Linked DNA regions of Homo sapiens: all the other regions are linked to region 3. Evidence: promoter capture Hi-C in 16 types of primary human blood cells and fetal thymus (Javierre and others, 2016). All regions are on one chromosome and are shown on one strand. The core of a region is centred on a gene start or on the middle of the fragment in contact, and the rest is flanking DNA. Distances in the headings are between cores, read along the strand shown. Region 1 has its middle 38 kb from the start of LINC02414. Region 2 overlaps SFSWAP (splicing factor SWAP). Region 3 holds the start of STX2 (syntaxin 2).

Region 1 (4,556 bases), core at 1,486-3,985, 770 kb after region 3:
ATTACAGGCGTGAGCCACCATGCCCGGCCCCAGGTTATTTTTTAATATTTTTGATCTGAGGTCCAAGGACATGGGGCCTATGGATATGGAGGGCCACGTCCATCTGTTTCCCCTCTCAGATTCTTCCCAGTCACCCTCTCAAACTTGCCAGTTGGTATTCTATTCCGGTTTAACTCTGGCATTAACTCATCTCAACCTAATCTCAGTGGAATCATAGAGGTAGATTTTGGATCCGACATTACCTGGGGGATTCTGTGGGAGTTAGGAGGAAGAGAAGTGAGTGTTTGTACAATCCACTGACAGCTATTCCTGTACTGCCTGTGTCTTCATTGTTTTGAATTTCTGTTTCATTTTCTATTTTTAAGCCTGTCTTGAGTCAGTTGAAATCAGATTAGCTGTCCTCTGAAGTTCCTTCCAGTTCTGAGAATCTGTGATTTCATTTAATATTAAACAGACTTGTGAGCAAACATGAAGGATGCGGAGGTATTTTATGAACTATAAACATACCAACACCAGTATGAGATTACTAATTCAACCTTTGTGTGTCTTGTGTATTCACACGGAGTACAGGTGCCTCAGGGAAGGGACCCAATGGTGTTGGGTCACCGGTTTCAGTGCATGCTCAGTATGACAGCCATAAGATCTCACTTTGCATGCAGTGGCTGGTCGGGTGCGGTCATCCGTGGTCACACTGCACCAGGGATGCCTTCAGGAAGGCTGTTCAGACCTTACAGAGGCATCTTCCCCTACACACAGAATTCCTTTTCTTTCTCACACACATGGTCCTTCAAGTTGTTTTCCAGACTTTTTTGTGTATAGGCCACGGATTCCAGCAGTGGTGGAGGGTGAGTCACTGTCACCGGTGGTAATTTATCATAGTTACCATGTTGGGAGGTTAGGAGGGGCTGGTTGTCATTCATCCATCCTCAGATTGTTTTTGTGATTTCTCTCAACATCAGTAGGTTGGGGTTTTTTTGATGAATTGTGTTTGTTTGTTTGTTTTTCTACCTTCCAAAAGTCTTTGTGGGATACTTCATTTTGGCTCTTTCATGTGTCTGGATGGTCTGACATTTTTGTTTTATTACAAAATTGAGCGGTAGAAACTGTAAATGAAGAATTTCACTCTTAGAAATGTCCAGCAAAGATCATTTAAATAGGTGAATAAAGAATTGAAGGTCCTCAGTTAGTAACATTACAGTCCTAGCATAAATTCTTCCTTAATTTTCATCTATGATGGGTTAGCTCTGATTAAAAATACCACTGGGGCTTGCGATTTTTACTTCTCTTCAGTTGCATTCGATATCAATTTTGTTTTAATTGTTTTATTTACATTTCATAGGAAATCAATGCAATGGACAAATGAGAGAGAAGCAAAAACACATTAATGGCATTTGTTTTTGCCATGTGACCATTTGAAGCAATTCTGGGAATAAACAGTTTAAAATCTGTTACTGTTTAGAATTAAATACTTTATATTTGGCATGTACTGCCTTCGTCTGATTTCTGCGTTGTTTCCATGGAAACGCGCATAATTTATGTGAAAGCGCCACACCATGTGTGATCACTTATGTTTAAGCCCAGTTTGGGATATTGTCTCTCGTATCCCCACACCTCCTCACCACTATTTTGTCTTTGATATGGAGCAGGTGTTGGCGAATGCAGCAACATCACTAAGGCAAGTTCCACCATAGACAACGCAGATATTTTGCTTGGAGAGTTTCTGCTTTTAAAATCTTTGGGGGAGCCAAGCCAACACCCCATGTTCACTCTGACACGTGGCTTCTGTGGTTCTGCGGGAACAGAAACACGCAGTTCCAGGACGGGCCTCCAGGGGGAGGTTGGGGCCGCCCTTCCTGCTCAGCCTGCAACCGACTCCTCCCGCCAGACAGGCTGTGGTCAGAGACACAACAGGAAAATCAAATTTGTTGATTTTCCAAACAAAAAGAAGTTGGTTTGTTTTTTGTATTTTACAGGTTTTTTTTCTACTTCGATAGCATTTTGGTGGTTTTTGTTACATGCATGAATTGTGTGGTGGTGAATTCTGAGATTCTAGTGCCCCCGTCACCCAAGGGGTGTCCATTGTCCTAGCGTGTAGGTCTTTTTATCCCTAGCCCCATCCCGCCCTCCTCCTTCTGAGCCTCTAGAGCCCATTACATCACTCCGTACGCCTTCGCGTAGTCAGCCTAGCTCCCTCTGACAAGTGAGAACATGTGGTTTTGGTTTTCCACGCCTGTGTTCCTTCACTTAGAATAATGCCCCCAGCTCCGTCCGAGTTGCTGCCCATCGGCTACTGAATGGATAAAGAAAACGTGGTGTCTATACACCAAGGGGTACTACTCAGCCATTAACATGAATGCAATACTGTCTGTTCCAGCAGCTTTTTGAGGAAGGCTAGCGCACCTAGCTAATCCATCTGAAGCCTAATGCTGTGCTCTGTTGTCTCAAAAATCAGTACTTGGAGGCAGGAATGTGGCTGCCTGCAGCAAACCATGAGAGACTCTGGGGACCTCGCTGTGGGGTTTTGGTGGGAAGGCGGCCCCAAGCCATCCCTGGCTCCTTGGCAGCAATGCAGGGCATCCCAGGGAAGCGGCTGGTGACGCTGGCACCTTTGATCATGAGAGAAGGGCGGTGGGGCCATCATGGAAAGCTTTAGAGAACTCAGCTACAAAACAGGAGATGTGGGCCTTGTGTTCCCATAGCCTTAAGAGCGGCATGAAAGAAACAGCCGTGGCTTCACCTGCCCAACGGGTAGGGAACAAGGCATGAAAAGACAACATTGTAGCCCTGTTGGTGGAGGCCCTCTCTGTCTTCGTCCACGAATGTGAAGCTTCTGATGGTCAACCTCAGAAATTAATCAAGAGCCTGCAGAGCTGCAGTGGGACAGGAGTGTCCCCCGTTTTATAGCCCATGGCAACACTGGGTCCGTTGGAGCAGGTTCGTCTGAAGGAGCTGGAGAGTGGCTGCCCGCAGTGGTCCCAGATCCCACCTGTCTATGAGGAGGCCACACCCTCCAGGGCACAGTTGACTGGACCTTTGATGACCTCTGACACAAGCAGGCCTCTCCCTGGCCACCTGGCCTGGGCGCCAAGAGTCTTGTTTCGGGTTGAGCCTGCCTCGTAAGCAAGATATGAGGAATCTCGGGGCTGTGTGCTGGGTGGGGAGCACCTTCTGCCTCATGGACAGAGGGGCAGAGAAGTCAGACCAGCAGAGGAAAGATGACAAAGCCACCTGCAAGGGAGAGCGGGGGCAGCCGGCCTCCTCTTCCTGGCACCCTCTCTTTTCTTGCCTTTTCTGTCATTAAACTTTCCTGGTTTTCCTCCCATTTCTCTGGACACCCCTTGGGCCCGCTTGCCAGCTCCTCTGCCTTCTTGTTTAAACAGCATCCCTTCCCACACCGTAGCCTGCTGGATAGAGTCCTGGGTCCCTAAGATGGGACAGGATGGTGACACCTGGCAGGAAGCGGGCAATGTCCCTACACACAGTTCCAGCTCCAGAGTGGAGGCTCAGGGATTTTGCCCAGGGGAGGGTAAAAGTGAGGGCTCCAGGTCTCTTCCCAAGGAAACTAACTTCATCTGCAGCACAGTATGGGGAAGTTGAAGCCCAAGGATGCTCTCAAGAACAGCGGAGGTGTGGCGGAAGGCGCCAGTGGACAGCAGATTCCTGGAGATGTGGGCCGCACTGCAGGCTGGCTAGTTTGCAGGGTCGGGCTGTGGGCTGTTTCTTGGAACAGGAGCGGCATGTGGGCAGGGCAGAGCCTCCAAGGCACCTGCTACAGCAGCAGCAGCCTTCACAGGGCAGGCTGGAGTGCCTGTGGAATGAGGGCATGGTGCCTGCGGCTCGGGTGTGCACAGTGGAGATGGGAGGGAGATAGTGTCTGGGCCAGGAAGACGGAGACGAAGCCGTCTCCTCTATTTCACTCATTAAAAATAACTCTGGGTCTCAGTTCCTCTGCAGCCAACCAGTCTTGGTGCCTTGGGTAGTTGGGTGTTTGGGGTCTAAATGAGCCTCTGCTTTCTGCAGACCTAGCCCTGGGGCTCAGCAGAGCGGAGGCCCCACAGTTCATGCTGACTGTGCCTCACGTGGGCTGGGGCAGAGAGAAGCCAACCAGAGACCCTTCAGCCACACGGGGTGTGTGGGGTTCCATCCAGCCTGCACCCAGCTGCCCGGACACGGCTCTGACGTGGGCTGAGTCCACACGTGGTGTGTGGGGTTCCATCCAGCCTGCACCCAACTGCCCGGAAACGGCTCTGACGTGGGCTGAGTCCACTCAGGGGTCCTTTGTGCCAATCCATTGTACAGGCAGGGGTGCCTGCTCCCCCTGCCCAGCATGGCCCCACCCACCTGCACAAGAAGGCCCAGGCTCCCTGTGCCCTGGCTCTGTGCCCCCCAGGCCCTGTCCTCCCTGCAGCCATGCCACATGATCCATGGTGCACTTGTTTCCGGCTCTGTGCCCCACCAAATGGCCCACCAGCCCAGAGGAAACCCAGGGCCACGTATTCCAAATCGTGATGGGGTGAGCCTGTGGTGCTGTCGAGACCCTGGAAAAATCCCCTGGG
Region 2 (4,875 bases), core at 1,560-4,059, 940 kb after region 3:
AGAGTTCTTCACCAGAAAAAGACAGCAAAGACGTGTTTCTCTTCCTTCTCGTCACAGAACAAACTCCTTACTCGAGGGTGGAGTATGTGTCTCAGCTCTCCTTCTCTTCAGCTCTCTCTTTGTTTTCCTGGGGAAATCCCGGGCCTTGTTGAAAGGACCTGCAGCAGCTCTGACTTCCCGAACACTCACAGGTGCCCGTGTTGAGGTTCCCAATGGCGTCTTTCAGCCCCTGGGCCGGCTTGCTTTCTGCGCAGCGTGTGCTCCTGATGTAGAGGCCGTGGATACTGGCATTTTTTTAGTGCATCAGCTGATTTCTCTGGTGTCCACCCAGGGCTCGCCTCAGAGGATGTGCTCAGCTCGCAAACCTGTGTTCTTTGCTCTTTGCAGAATGGAAGCCCTCTCCCTTTCGGTGTGTATGGGAGAGGCCATAGCTAGGATGTTGAGCCTCTGAAGTTGTAAAGCTTACTACCTTTTTATTTATTGTATGTTTAATTTAAAGGATCATTTAGCATTGCTTGTGGGCAAATCCTGACTAATGCCAGAGTGGGGGTGTTCTTGGATATAGAGCTTGCTTTGTCATTGGACGTTTGTGTGTTAGAATTATGTAAGCAATAAAATATTTTAGCTGGGCACGGTGGTTCACGCCCGTAATCTCAGCACTTTGGGATGCTGAGGTGTGCAGTTCACTTGAGGCCAGGAGTTTGAGACCAGCCTGGCCAAAATAGCAAAACCCTTTCTCTACTAAAAATACAAAAAAAAAAAAAAAAATTAGCTGAGCATGATGGCACATGCCTGTAATCCCAGCTACTCAGGAGGCTGAGGCACAAGAATCACTTGAGGCCGGAAGGCGGAGGTTGCGGTGAGCTGAGATCACGCCACTGCACTCCACCCCGGCAACAGAGCAAGACTCTGCCTCAAAACAAACAAAAATAATAAAATATTTAAAAGTTTGACCTGAAAAATATTGTTACACTTAACAGAATTTTAAATGAGAAAGACCTTTTTGATAAGAACTGTCCCACAGTAAAGTGGATTTTTTTGCCAAAATGTCCCTGGAGATAATTTAGGCAGAGACTTAAAGATGAACCTCATAGCGGCCATCAGATCCCAAGGAGGAATTCATCCCTGCCCTCTTGCCCGCCGCACACCCACAACCAGGGAGGGGCATTAGAGAGCACAGTGTAAACGGAAACAGCAAGGAGGCTGAACAGAGGGCTGAGAAATCACCGTGCCATCATAAAGCAGCCAGCTCAAGTGGAAACTCATCTTAAATTGGGGCCTGCCCCACCAGGGCTCTGCTGAATTGCTTTTGATCTCAAAGCCAAAGCAAGAAGCATAACTGTAGAAGAATCGTTTCTACAGTGTTTTCCCGCAGCCAGTTGGCCTTGCCACAGCGGACCTAAGGAGAGGAAAGAAGGGAGGGAAGCCCCCTTACCACTTTGCCTTTCACAGATGCCGTCCTGCGCACACTGCCGCGGGCTGGGCTGGAGCTCTCCCCGGGGAGCAGCTGGGGGCAGCCTGGGAGACTGGGTCCCACCCCAGCACCTAACCTGAATTTCTTCGAGGCACAAAGGATAAATTGCAGATTTTTCACTGTGTCTAAAGGTGTGAAATGTTTAACAGCTATAATTTAAAATTCACTTGAAGTGAGGAGAGAGTGAGCTTTCTGGGTAAAGAGGGGCAGGCTGCAGGCCTATGCTGTTGAAGGGTGCTGTCTCCTGATCTGGTTCCGATGCGCTGTGGTGGAAATGTGTCAGCATGCATTGAAGATTCATATGCTCTTCTGTATGTATGTAACACTCAGATGGAGAGGTTTTAAAACATCAAAGGGGAGCCTAGACCTTCTTTAAAAATTATTGTCAGAGTAGTGCCGATACTCATTTAAAAACCTAACATCGGAGGTTTGAGGAATCTCTCCTCTGGTAGTTAAAACTGTTTTTTTTGTTTTTCCTTAAGAACTATTTTTTTTTATTATACTTTAAGTTTTAGGGTACATGTGCACAACGTGCAGGTTAGTTACATATGTATACATGTGCCATGTTGGTGTGCTGCACCCATTAACTCATCATTTAACGTTAGGTATATCTCCTAATGCTATCCCTCCCCGCTCACCCCACCCCACAACAGGCCCCGGTGTGTGATGTTCCCCTTCCTGTGACCATGTGTTCTCGTTGTTCAGTTCCCACCTATGAGTGAGAACATGCGGTGTTTGGTTTTTTGTCCTTGGTGATAGTTTGCTGAGAATGATGGTTTCCAGCTTCATCCATGTCCCTACAAAGGACATGAACTCATCATTTTTTATGGCTGCATAGTATTCCATGGTGTATATGTGCCGCATTTTCTTAATCCAGTCTATCATTGTTGGACGTTTGCGTTGGTTCGAAATCTTTGCTATTGTGAAGAGTGCCACAATAAACATACGTGTGCATGTGTCTTTATAGCAGCATGATTTACAATCCTTTGGGTATATACCCAGTAATGGGATGGCTGGGTCAAATGGTATTTCTGGTTCTAGATCCCTGAGGAATGGCCACACTGACTTCCACAATGGGTGAACTAAAAAGGAACGTATTTTTTCCCAGCGTAGCATCTCTAATACTCTAATACTGTGCTCCTCTTGTTGGCTCCGGCTGTCCACAGCCTGGGGGCTGGGAAGAGAGTGCTGCCTGTGGAAATGCTCGGGAACCAGAGGGTTCACTTTCTCCTTTTGCATCCTGGGAGGTGACAAGGAGGTCACTCTGGATAGCCACAGGAGGAGACTTTCTAAGAGATGGTTGCTGTGTTTGTTGGTGTGAGGGGCCCAAAGTTGAAATTTTATAGATATACATCTTCAATGTTCTGTTTTCCCTGTTAACACCCAGATTTTCCTTTTATTCTTAGGAATCCAGCACTACGCCCTGCCCTCTACTGACTGGAGGCAGGCCTCTGCCTACTTTAGAAGTTAAACCACCCGATAGGCCTTCGAGCAAAAGCAAAGATCCACCGAGAGAAGAAGAGAAAGAAAAGAAAAAGAAAAAGCACAAAAAAAGATCTCGAACAAGATCACGTTCTCCCAAGTACCATTCGTCATCCAAGTCCAGGTCTAGATCACACTCAAAAGCAAAGCATTCTCTTCCCAGTGCCTATCGGACAGTGCGGCGGTCGAGGTGGGTGTGAAGGGGGCAGCACCTCTGGTACCCTCATGACCCCCATGTCCTTCACAGGACACCCAGTAGAGCTAGGTAGAACGTTTAAAATCAGTGCCGCTTTCATTAAGCAGACGCGTGTATGCATGTGCATGTGTGCCCTGCAAGTCCAAGTAAGATCTTTTTCAGATTTTTGTTTGTTTTATACTTAACTTTTTCTTTTTTGAGACAGAGTTTTGTTCTTGTTGCCCAGGCTAGAGTGCAGTGGTGCGATCTTGGCTCACTGCAACCTCCGCTTCCCAGGTTCAAGTGATTCTCCTGCCTCAGCCTCCTGAGTAGCTGGGATTACAGGTGCCCACCACCACGCCTGGCTAATTTTTGTATTTTTAGTAGAGACGGGGTTTCACCGTGTCGGCCAGGCTGGTCTTAAACTCCTGACCTCAGGTAATCCACCCACCTTGGCCTCCCAGAGTGCTGGGATTACAGGCCTAAGCCACCGCGCAGGCCTATACTTAACTTTTCAAAGTTCATAAACTACTGCCAGGTTTTTAAAAATTGGTTTGTTTAAATTCTAATGGTTCCTGGAAGCAAGCCTACCACATTTGCCGATTGTGTGAAAGATTCACAGGGTGGTGTGCTGGGGGTCTTTTGTTTTATTTGTATAAGTGAAGTTTCCCATGCTAATTTGTCTCAAATGTGTAAAGTTGCAAGACAGGAGAACTCTTTAGCACTGGTTCTGGGTTTGGATTCTCTGCTCTGCACACGCACTCACCGGCACCGCACTCTGCACATACACTCACCGGTGCCACACTCTGCACACACTTCGTGTGGCACCGGTGAGCGTGTGTGCAGAGATGCAGCGACGGTGAGTGTGTGTGAAGAGGGCAGCGCGGATGAGTGTGTGTGAAGAGGGCGGCGCGGGTGAGCGTGTGTGAAGAGGGCGGCGCGGGTGAGTGTGTGTGAAGAGGGCGGCGCGGGTGGGTGTGTGTGAAGAGGGCGGCGCTGGTGCAGAATGTTTCCTCTCCACCCTCCCTCCAGGAGTCACTATTAAACCAAAGGCCTTCTTGATGAGGAGCCAGTTTTTCAGAAAGCAGGTTAACATTTCTGGCAGCAGAAATTAAAAATGTAAAAACATTTAAGAGTCACAGAATTTACATCTTGGTGAAAACCACTTTTTAAAAACAAAACAGTGGCTGACCTACAGGAGGTTGGCACAGCTTGCCCTGTTTTCAGAACCCCGTTACACCTTGGGTTCGCTGCTGAACACTGGCTGACTCTCCTCGGTTTCTCTAACGCCGCACTGACTGTGCTCATCTAGTTTTTCTTCTGGAATTGGTGTTAGCTCTTATGTTTCTGTGGGAAAAATACACATGCCTTGGGAGCTTTACGGGCTTTTTAAGTGTAATTTTACACATTTGCCTCTCTGAATATATCCTAAAAACAATATGCTTGCTTTCTTTACTTATTTATTTATTTATTCATTTATTTATTTAGAGACGGAGTTTTTGCTCTTGTTTCCCAGGTGGGAGTGCAATGGCACGATCTTGGCTCACTGCAACCTCTGCCTCCCAGGTTCAAGTGATTCTTCTGCCTCAGCCTCCCAAGTAGCTGGGATTACAGGCATGTGCCACCACGCCCAGCTAATTTTGTTTTTTTAGTAGAGATTGGGTTTCACCATGTTGGCCAGGCTGGTCTCGAACTCCTGACCTCAGGTGACCCACCCACCTCAGCCTCCCACAGTGCTGGGGTT
Region 3 (4,967 bases), core at 1,444-3,943:
AGCCACTGTGCCCAGCCAGAAGGCTGCTTTTTATAACTCCCTAAAAACAAAAAATCTGGTAAACATTAATCACACTTATAATTACATAGCACTTGCTCCCTCCCACCTTCTCCCAGAGCTTCACACATTAGATAATTTTATGCTTCATAACTCCCTCTATGAGGTGGACAAGAGAGATACCACTGTCCCCATTTCACGTACAAGAAAAAGTTTTGAGAGATTTAAAAATTATTTGCCCAAGATGAGAAACTCCATGAGTGGAAACTTCCACGGATATACTCTCTGACTGCTCAGCTGCTGTGTCTAAAGCAGGATGGTATTGAAGTAGATGAGCTGACTTCTAGCTCTGCCGTTCTAGAACAAAACTGATTGACATGTTCTACTGTTTCAGGAAGGGTTTGGATATATAGAAACTGAGTGACAAATAATTGCCTTATTTGCTTTTTGCTATTCAAGCCAAGAAAACGTACTTTCTCACGATTCCCCAACATATAAATTTGGCTGTATTTTGCCAAAATAGTCACAGCTCTCACGTTCAATGACATTGAGCTTTTTTTTTTTTTTTTTATGAGACAATGTCTCACTCTGTCACCCAGGCGGGAGTGCAGTGGCATGGCACAATCATGGCTCACTGCAGCCTCTATCTCCTGGGCTCAAGGAATCCTCCTAGCTTAGCCTCCTGAGTACCAAGGACTACAGGTGCGAGTCACACCTGGATAGTTTTTTTGTGCGTGCTTTGTTTTGTTGGTTTTTCTGAAACAGAGTCTCTTTCTGTTGCCCAGACTGGAGTACAGTGGCACAATCTCGGCTTTCTGCAACCTCCGCCTCCTGGATTCAAGCGATGCTCCTGCCGCAGCCTCCAGAGTAGCTGGGACTACAGGTGTGCGCCATGACATCCGGCTATTTTAGTAGAAACGGGGTTTTGCCATGTTGGCCAGGCTAGTCTCCAACTCCTGACCTCAAGTGGTCCACCCAACTCGGCCTCCCAAAGTGCTGGGATTACAGGCATGAGCCACTGCGACTGGCCTCCTGCTAATTTTTTAATTTTTTTCGAGAAACAGTGTCTCCCTGTGTTGCCCAAGCTGGTCTCCAATACCTGGGCTCAAGTGATGCCCCCACCCTGATCTCCCAGACTGCTGGGATTACAGGAGTGAGCCACAGCTTTTCTTCATTAAATAAATACCTGAGCTCCTACTACACGGCACTGAAAGATAATCCATCGGGCAAGACAACACAACTATAATTTGCTGTGTTTAAGATGATATTGATCTGCGGAACACAGGGAATATTTGTCCATTAATAAAAAAGGAAAAATCACCGTGAAGAAACTTCCTTGGAATGAATATAAAGCATAATTTCCATGATCCTAAGGATGAAATCATTGCCTTTCTCAACCAGAGCTCCTCATCTGAACCACAGAACACAGATAATGATTTAAGTGGCTCTTTTCTCTATTCTCCCACTCGGGGGTACATAACAGCTCCATTCTAGCAGCAGAGGAGAGAGAATAATTCATTACATGCAGTGGGTGTCGTAGGGCTGTGGGCCTTAGCACCCCTGTTCTGAGGCTGCCAACAATTTAGAGACCAGAGGCTCTATCTGTGCACACACGTAGCATGAATTAGTACCTGTATTGTAAAGGGAAAAAGTCATAACTACTTCTGCTGGCCTAAGCCGTCCTGGGTTAGACAAGCTTGGAAAGTGCACGACCATCACTATCATTCCGCTGTCACTGCACCATGCACAGTCCTGTCACCTTTACACGTGTAGAATGCATCGAAATCCTTCCAAAATTTTTAGTGACCTGCTTTTCCCTTGCTAAAGTAAACAGTAACTTGCTGTGTGCCCGGCTGCTGGGCGCGTAAGGTGCGTTCAGAGTCAACACACGGTCCCAGTTTCCAAAGCAAACTACTGGGAGATCAGACACAAGCTGCTGTTCGCGCTCGCCCCACCCCAAGCACCCAGCACTCTAAGGTGCCCACATTTCACACCCATCTGTTGCCTCCCGCTTGGTGCACAGTCCTTTGTGAAGCCCCAGGGATAAAGCAGCGACCAAGAGGACCCGGCCTGCTCCCCGGGGCTGACGCCAGCTGCGGGGACCCCGTGGGGCGGACCACAGTTAGGCCAGTGGGCTCCGGCTGGGTAAGCGCCAGATACAATCCGCCAAGCGGAGTGACGGACAGGGAGCCACGCTCGAAGAGGGGGTCGAGGCCGGGACCTTCCCCGCTCCCTCCTCCTGCCCCAACCCGCCCTGAGGACTCCGCCCAGGAAGCCCTGGGGACCCCGCCCGGAGCCCCCACCCTAGGACTCCCGGGACCCCCGCCCTGGGGACCCCACCAGCAGTCCCCGCTCAGGACTCCCTGAGACCCTGCCCGCAGCCCCCGCCCCAGAACGCCGGAGATCCCCGCCCTGGGGACCCTCCCGGAGCCCCGCCCAAGACGCCCCGAGCCCCCGCCCGCCCTCCAGACGCCGCCCCGGCCGGGCCTGAACCGCTACCCGCGGCTGCCGCTCACCGCCGTCAGGTCTGGCAGCCGGTCCCGCATCCCCGCCGGCCGGGCAGCGCGCCCCGCCGCTCAAGCCTGTCCCGAGCTGCCTCCGGCCGGGCCTCGGGCTCTCCGGTCTCCGCCTCAGGCCCCGCGGTCCCGGCCCGGCGCCAGCAGCCCTCCCTGGAGCCGGCGCTGCCACGGCAACCGCGCCCCGCGCGCTCTGCGCATGCCCGGCCCGCGCCGCGCCCCGCACCCACCCACACGGCGGCAGCGCTTTCCAGCGGGAGCCCGGAGGGGCGGGGCCTGGGGGCGGGGCCTAGGCGGGGAGGGGCGGGGTCCGGCCGAGCCCCAGGCTGGCAGTTCCGCTACACGTGCTGTTTGTCCCTTGATCTGCTTTTATGCTTTCACACTCATTGTTTTATTTATCAAAATATAGAGCATTCAACGAATAGTGACAAAAGAGCAAAGCTCCCGGAATGTGCTGGGTGCAGCTTTGGGTAATACATATGCCGAACCTTCTCTTTAAGGGTCCACGCGCAGCCTCGGGTGTGAATGAAGGAGAAGAGATCGTGTACCACACATGATGCTTACGGAGCATAACACGGCAGGGGGCGGTAACGGGAAGAGCGTCCGCAGGCCCAGCCCTGGGATACCATTCTGGCAGGAGAAACAGGCAATACAGACACAGACAAATAAATGATAGATGAGAAAAGAAAGTAAGGGCATGGGCACGGAACTGGCAGAGAGGTCGTCATGAAGGTGCAGGAGCTTAGGTGAACTACCCAGGTTGGGGGAACAGTCCCCAAGACCATTATCACCTCTGACACCAACGGCAAATTCTGGCGGTTTCCAAAACCACCTTCAAGTTCCATAATTTGCTAGAAGGAATCACAGAATACACTAAAAACTACTGTACTCACAACTATGGTTTCTTAGCAGGAAAATGATACGGATTAACATCAGCCAAGGAAGAAGGGCAGAGGGGGAGTCTGGGGATTACGGCGTGCAGCTTCAAGGTCCTCCCGTGGTCCTCTCCCTGTGTAGTCAGGCCTCATTACTTGCCCTGCACTGATGTGTGGCCTTACACACGAAGTACTGCCAGCCAGGGAAGCTCACTTGAGCCACAGTGTGCAGAACGTTTACTGGGCTCCATTGCATGTGCATGATTGATTGATTGTTTGATTGCTTTCATGCTTGATCTCAGCCTCTTGGTTAAGTGATATCCATGTAACCCTAAGCCCCCACCATAAATCACACTGTTACTCTCTGGCTAGCCGAAGACTCCCAGGCAAACAAAGATTGCCTTCCAGGAGGAGAAGGCAAGGCCAGATTTGTTTTTAAACAAGGTTAAAGTCTTTACTGCCTCCTGGAGGAGGTGGCTTTGGTCTGACCAGAAGGCAGCGCTAAGAAATCTGCTTGAGAGCAACAGGCTACACATTAAAAAACAGGACGTTTTGGACTTGGTTCTAGGTGTGATGTGGTTCTGTTACCCGATGGAAGGTCTTGACAGCCAGTTGTCCAGGTGAGTGTGGTGGCGGGCACCTGTAATCCCAGCTACTCAGGAGGCTGATGCATGAGAATTGCTTGAACCCGGGAGGTGGAGCTTGCAGTGAGCCAAGATCGCACCACTGCACTCCAGCCTGGACAGTAAAGCGAGACTCCGTCTCCAAAAAAAAAAAAAAGATATGTTTTTTCTCTCCATATCCTGAACTTCCCCACCAGAATGCCTCCTGGACCCCGCAACAGGCAAGTGCTTTTCTTTCGGCCTTCTTGCCTCTGCCACCACCATTTTAATTCTCCCTCTCTGGTAAATACTGGGCCCTCCCTCGTTTCTCCCTCTCTCCCAGTGGATTTTTCAAAAACATATGATAATATTGGCAGCAGCTGGATGGTGTTGAATTGGCAACCAAAACTTTTTGTTTGTTTGTTTGTTTGTTTGAGACAGAGTCTTATTCTGTCTCCCAGACTGGAGTGCAGTGGCATGGTCATAGTCCACTGCCGCCTTGAACTCCTGGGCTCAAGTAATCCTCCCACCTCAGCCTCCAAAAGCACAGGGACCACAGACATGAGCCCACCATGCCCAACCTCAAAACTTTCCTTATCCTGCCAGAGAAAAAAAATGAAGTTGTGAATAATCGTTGTGGGAATTCAGGGACCCTGAATGGAGGGACCGGCTGAAGCCATGGAAGAAGAACATAAATTATGAAGATTTCATGGACATTTATTAGTTCCCCAAATTAATACTTTTATAATTTCTTATGCCTGTCTTTACTGTAATCTCTGAACATAAATTGTGAAGATTTCATGGACACTTATCACTTCCCCAGTCAATACCCTTGTGATTTCCTAGGCCTGTCTTTACTTTAATCTCTTAATCCCATCATCTTCGTAAGCTGAGGAGGATGTATGTCGCCTCAGGACCCTGTGATGATTTTGTTAACTGCACAAATTGTTTGTAGAGCATGTGTGTTTGAACAATAT

The links. Contacts are between HindIII fragments. The CHiCAGO score rates a contact against its expected background, and 5 or more counts as called.
Region 1: a contact is called between a fragment that was not itself captured here and the fragment with the promoter of STX2 in region 3, in 1 of 17 cell types (monocytes). The highest score is 5.0, in monocytes.
Region 2: a contact is called between a fragment that was not itself captured here and the fragment with the promoter of STX2 in region 3, in 4 of 17 cell types (erythroblasts, endothelial precursors, monocytes and 1 more). The highest score is 6.4, in erythroblasts.

The regions. Positions count from the first base shown.
Region 1 is chr12:131,607,384-131,611,939 of GRCh38, forward strand. No RefSeq gene overlaps it. Among named protein-coding and RNA genes, the nearest start is that of LINC02414, 38 kb to the right of the region's middle. RefSeq lists an enhancer at 262-451. The HindIII fragment of the contact is 180 bases long and covers 2,646-2,825 here.
Region 2 is chr12:131,775,185-131,780,059 of GRCh38, forward strand. It overlaps SFSWAP (splicing factor SWAP), which reads left to right. Exons shown (of 18, transcript NM_004592.4): 14 at 2,881-3,146. Among named protein-coding and RNA genes, the nearest start is that of MMP17, 51 kb to the right of the region's middle. The HindIII fragment of the contact is 4,700 bases long and covers 460-4,875 here.
Region 3 is chr12:130,836,557-130,841,523 of GRCh38, forward strand. STX2 (syntaxin 2) reads right to left here and starts at 2,694. Exons shown (of 11, transcript NM_194356.4): 1 at 2,514-2,694. The coding sequence starts at 2,543. RefSeq lists silencers at 2,258-2,317, 2,388-2,897. The HindIII fragment of the contact is 18,553 bases long and covers 1,692-4,967 here.